Regions from separate parts of the Homo sapiens genome. Here region 1 is linked to region 2. Evidence: promoter capture Hi-C in 16 types of primary human blood cells and fetal thymus (Javierre and others, 2016). All regions are on one chromosome and are shown on one strand. The core of a region is centred on a gene start or on the middle of the fragment in contact, and the rest is flanking DNA. Distances in the headings are between cores, read along the strand shown.

Evidence for each region. Contacts are between HindIII fragments. The CHiCAGO score rates a contact against its expected background, and 5 or more counts as called.
Region 1: a contact is called between a fragment that was not itself captured here and the fragment with the promoter of MEOX1 in region 2, in 1 of 17 cell types (megakaryocytes). The highest score is 5.7, in megakaryocytes.

What each region holds. Positions count from the first base shown.
Region 1 is chr17:43,761,731-43,764,430 of GRCh38, reverse strand. No RefSeq gene overlaps it. Among named protein-coding and RNA genes, the nearest start is that of SOST, 4.3 kb to the right of the region's middle. The HindIII fragment of the contact is 6,558 bases long and covers 1-2,700 here.
Region 2 is chr17:43,660,649-43,663,348 of GRCh38, reverse strand. MEOX1 (mesenchyme homeobox 1) reads left to right here and starts at 1,427. Exons shown (of 3, transcript NM_004527.4): 1 at 1,427-2,283. The coding sequence starts at 1,815. RefSeq lists an enhancer at 2,133-2,674. The HindIII fragment of the contact is 18,347 bases long and covers 1,004-2,700 here.

The sequences.
Region 1 (2,700 bases), core at 143-2,642, 100 kb before region 2:
AATTAGCCAGGTGTGGTGGTGCTCACCTGTAATCCCACCTACTCGGGAGGCTGAGCCAGGAGAATCACTTGAACCCAGGAGGCGGAGGTTGCAGTGAGCTGAGATCACGGCACTGCACCCCAGCCTGGGAGACAGAGTAAGACTCCGTCTTAAGACAAAACAAAACAAAAAACCTGTACAAAATGTTTATACCACCTCTATTAATAATTGCCAGAGCTTGAAAGCAACCAAGATGTCCTTCAGTAGATGACAGTAGGTGACTAGATAAACCGTGATACATCAAGACGATGGAGTATTACTCAGTGCTAAAAAAAAAAAATAAGCTGTTCATGCCATGAAAAGACATGGAGGAACCCCAAATGAATATTACTAACTGAAAGAAGCCAATCTGAAAAGACTATGTATGGGTATATTCCAACTCTATATGACATCCTGGAAAAGGCAAAAATAAAGGTACAGTAAAAAGATCAGTGGTTGCCAGGGGTTGGGGAAAGTCGGGGAGGGATGAATAGGCAGAGCAGATAGTTTTTTTGGACAATGAAAATACTGCCCATCTGTATGATACTATAATGGTAGATGTATGTCATTATACATTTGTCCAAAGCCATAGGATGTACAACACTAGTGCTGTGATGTAAACCATGGACTTCAGGTGATAATGATGTGTCATGTAGGCTCATCAATCATAGCAAATGCACCACTCTGGTGGCGGGATGTTGATAACGGGGGCAGCTGTACATGTGTGGGCACAGGACATAAATGAGAAATCTCTGTACCATCCACTCAGTTTTGCTGTGAACCTAAAAGTGCTCCAGAAAAAAAATAAAGTTTTTTTTAGAAAAAAGCATCTGAACCTTTTTTTCAGTGGCATTGATCACCTTCCATCTGGTAGTGGAGTTGTTTGGATGCGGAAATTATTTCTTCCATGGTATGCGAGCTCCTGGAGAGGGAGTGCGTGTCCCCCTTGCTTTATTAAACGTTTGGCGAGTGAACATCGGAAGAAGCAACTCGACAGAAACAAAAGCTGGTAAATAATCACATGGAAAAGCAGCTTTTCTGGAAATTAAGTTTCAACTGTTAAATTCAATGTTTAAAAAAATCGGCTGGGTGCGGTGGCTCCCGCCTGCAATCCCAGCACTTTATGGGATTGTGGGAACACCTGATGTCAGGAGTTCAAGACCAGCCTGGCCGACATGGCGAAACCCCATCTCTACAAAACAAATAAAAAAAATGCAAAAATTAGCTGGGTGTGGTGGCGGGAGTCTGTAGTCCTAGCTACTCGGGAGGCTGAGGCAGGAGAACTGCTTGAACCCAGGAGGTGGAGGTTATATGAGCCAAGATCACACCACTGCACTCCCGCCTGGGTGACAGAGCGAGACTCTGTCTCAAAAAAAAAAAAAAAAAAAAAAAAAAAAATCAACATCCCAAACCCAGTGTTGACAGTCTTATTTATGGGTTGAACTGCATTCCTCCCAAATGCATATATTGAAGTCCTAAGTCACAGTACCTGAGAATGTGACCTTATTTGGAAATAGGGCTATTACAGATGTAACTCGTTAAGATGAGGTCATTAGGCTGGGCCTAATCTAATATGCCTGACCTCCTTAGAAAAAAGGGAAAATTCGAACACAGAGAGAACACCATGTGAAGATGAAGGCAGGGATTGGGGGTGACACTTCTGCAAGCCAGTGAATGCCACAGCTTGTCAGCAGCCAGCAGAAGGCAGGTAAAAGGCCTTCCTCGCTGTCCTCGAAGGAACCAACTCTGCCAATGTCTTGAACTTGCACTCCTAACCTCCAGCTCTGTGAGACGACTTCTGTTGTTTATGCCACCCAATTTGTGGTACTTAGTTACGGCAGCCTCATCAAAGTACCACCTATGGGAGCCTCTATTTTGCAGGTGAGGGCGGGGACTGGGCTTTTTCTGGAAAACAGCCCTGCAATACCCTCATCAGACCACCAAACTCTTCACACTCCCTCAGACACAGCATTCACTTCCAGAAATAACTCTAAAGTTTTGTTTTGTTTTTTTAAACTTTGTGGAATACTACTCAGCCAAAAAAAAAAAAAAGAAAAGAAAAAGGAACATGTTACTGATATGTACAACTTGGATAATGGAAATAATGCTGAGTGAAAAAAAAATCCCCAAAGGCTACATACTAATTGATTCCATTTATATAACCTTTTTTTTTTTTTTTGAGACAGTCTCACTCTGTCACCCAGGCTGGAGCACAGTGGCGCGATCTCAGCTCACTGCAACTTCCGCCTCCTGAGTTCAAGCGATTCTCTTGCCTTAGCTTCCCAAGTAGCTGGGATTACAGGTGCGTGCCACCATGCCCAGCTAATTTTTGTATTTTTAGTAGAGACAGGGTTTCGCCATGTTGGCCAGGCTGGTCTCGAACTCCTGACCTCAAGTGATCTGCCTGCCTTGGCTTCCCAAAGTGCTGGGATTACATGAGTGAGCCACCGCACCTGGCCGCATTTATGTAACAATTTTGAAGTGAAAAAAAAAAATGACAGAAATGGAGATTAGATGAGTAGTTGCCAGGGGTTAGTTGTGGGAGGGAGGGAAAAGGAGGGAAGGAGGTGGGCAACAGGAGAAAGACTTGTGGTCACAGAGCTGTGCTTTATCTTGACTGTGGTGGATCCCCAAATTTACCCGTGACAAGATTGCATAGAACTAAGTATACACACACGTGAA
Region 2 (2,700 bases), core at 178-2,677:
TACTGGTCTACAACACTCTGACCGCTTGTTCCAGAAGAGGGCACATCTTTTCATATGTACACCCCTCCCCATCTTTTACAGCTGCTCCTGCTCCCAGGATGTGTATCTGACTGGAGTTTCTGGATTAAAGGCCAGTCGTGGCTTCATTCCACATCCCTGGGTGCCCTTCGGCTCCTCCTAGGAGCATCTCCTGCACCCACCCCCCAGGGCCCCACCTCCAGGCTGCAGAGCTAAGACCTAGGGGCCCCTCCTCAGGGAACCCTCGCCGTCTTTGGAAGCAGCCAGCAGAGACGCTGCTGTTAAGGTCCATGCCTGTTTCTGCCCCCATCCTGCTGCTCTGGGCCATGGGAATAACCAGTGGGGAAGGAGTTCTGGCCCCTGGGTGTTAGGAATGTCGTCCTCCAAGAAATTGCATTAACCCTCTGAGAGACCAGCAGGGCGCAGCCATGAGGAAGACTGGGCATCAAGATGGCACTTGGGCTGGCTGCCCTGTGATGTGCACCAGCCCGGAGACCCACGTGCCTGCTTGCCAAAGAGGCTCCTTTGGGGAATGAGGAGCCCCTGATTCCTATTTCCCTACCCCAAATTCCTCGGAAGCCTCCGCCTCTGGGGGATGAGAAAGGGAAGCAGGTGGGTGGAGGTGAAGGGGGCAGGGAGCAGGTGGGAGGAGACCCGAAGAAACTTCAAGGACCTTATTTAAGAGCCTTGCCATTGCTGTGAAGAAAAATGACTTGAAACCTCTCTAGAGAAGAGTGTGGCTAATTGGCATGTATGTTGGAGGTTAAAGAGCGGAAGGAAGAATCTGATTGTTTTTTTAAGTTACTGAGAAAGTGAGAATGTCACTCTGGGCAGAGAGAAATTCTTTTTTTCTAGAGTGTGCCTTTCTTTGTACTGCAGACCACAGTGGGCCGCTGAGACTTGCAAAAAAGATTTCTTTTAATCCACCTTCCTTTTTCGCAGGCAGCAGTAGAAGGGCCTTTAAATCAAATGCAATCACCAAGCTTGTCTCTTGCTCTTATTCCTCACTTCACTCCCTGGAATTTGGCATTTGATGGATTCTGGATCTGACTTAAGGCTTTTTCTAAATCCAAGACTTGGGGAATTTTGTTAACAGTGCAATAAAAATAACTTCATAGTGTTACAGGAGGCACATTAAAGACGGTGTGTGTGTATGTGTGTGTGTGCTGCTCTCTTTCCTTAAAAAAAAAATACAGACAATGTTTCTTTAAAAGTCTCCATCTGCAAATCCCATTAGATGTGCATATAAGGTTTCTGATGATTAATAGTTGCCTGCTAGGGTTTTGGTTGGAGGGGATCTTGTGTGTGTGGGTTAACCCCTCCCTCTCCTCTCTCACATTTCACTTCAGAAATTTGTCACTCTCTCCCCACCGCAGGATTTAAAAGTGTGTCCCAGCAGCCCTGGTCCAGCCCTCTGCAGGCATTTGCTCTGGGCTCCAGGACGAACTCCTCGTCAGCTGGTGCGTCTGGGTTGGGACAGTGAAAATGTTTAGTGTCATTGGCGACAAATACACATACAGGGGATCCCAGTAGGTAGGCTGGTGCATTGGAGGGGCAGGAGCAAGCCCGACATAGGTGTGTGCACACACATAGGAGTAGCTGGCCACATGTGTGTGTACTTTAAGGAGAGACTTTAGTTTTGGGTTTTTTTTTTTTTTTGGTTCCTGGGGTAAATTTTCTGTTGAACATTTTTCCCTCCTATTTAGTTTTTTTTCTTTTGCATTTTTAAAAATTTGAACATAAAAAGTATAAAGAATCAAATCTTTGAAAGGACCGAGGCGTGCAGCGGACAGCAGATGGATCCCGCGGCCAGCAGCTGCATGAGGAGCCTCCAGCCCCCAGCCCCTGTCTGGGGCTGCCTTCGAAACCCCCACTCGGAAGGCAATGGGGCCTCAGGGCTACCCCACTACCCGCCCACCCCGTTCTCCTTCCACCAGAAACCAGACTTCCTGGCGACAGCGACGGCAGCGTACCCTGACTTCTCAGCCTCCTGCCTGGCAGCCACCCCACACAGCCTGCCCCAGGAGGAGCACATCTTCACTGAGCAGCACCCCGCTTTCCCACAGTCCCCCAACTGGCACTTCCCTGTCTCAGACGCCCGGCGCAGGCCCAACTCAGGCCCGGCAGGGGGTTCCAAGGAAATGGGGACCAGCAGCCTGGGCCTGGTGGACACCACAGGAGGCCCAGGCGATGACTACGGGGTGCTTGGGAGCACTGCCAATGAGACAGAGAAGAAATCATCCAGGCGGAGAAAGGAGAGTTCAGGTAGGTGGCTCAGGAGCAGCTGATCATTCCTTTACTGTGTGACCCTGGGGAAGTTACTCACCCTCTCTGTGCCTAGGTGCTCTGAGCATGAATTTCTGTCTAGTCCATCCAAATGCAGGAGACTGGACCAGTTACCTTTGGGGTTTCTTCCACTGAGAGTTCTAGGATTCTCTGGTGATGGGGACCATGTCTGTGTCCCAGCACTCCTGGGCCCCAGAAAGGGTGTCCAGCAAGAGAATGAAACAGGATCAGCCAGGATTTGGAGGACACGTGAAATGGATCCTCTGGGTGCAGACTGGCGAGGGCTGGTGAGGGGCTTTCCTGAATCAGGCTGCCATTGAGTCATCCTCCTCCCCACCATGCTTTGGCCAGCCCCAAGTGGTCCTAGAGCCACAGGGCTCGCTTACCAGGGAAGTT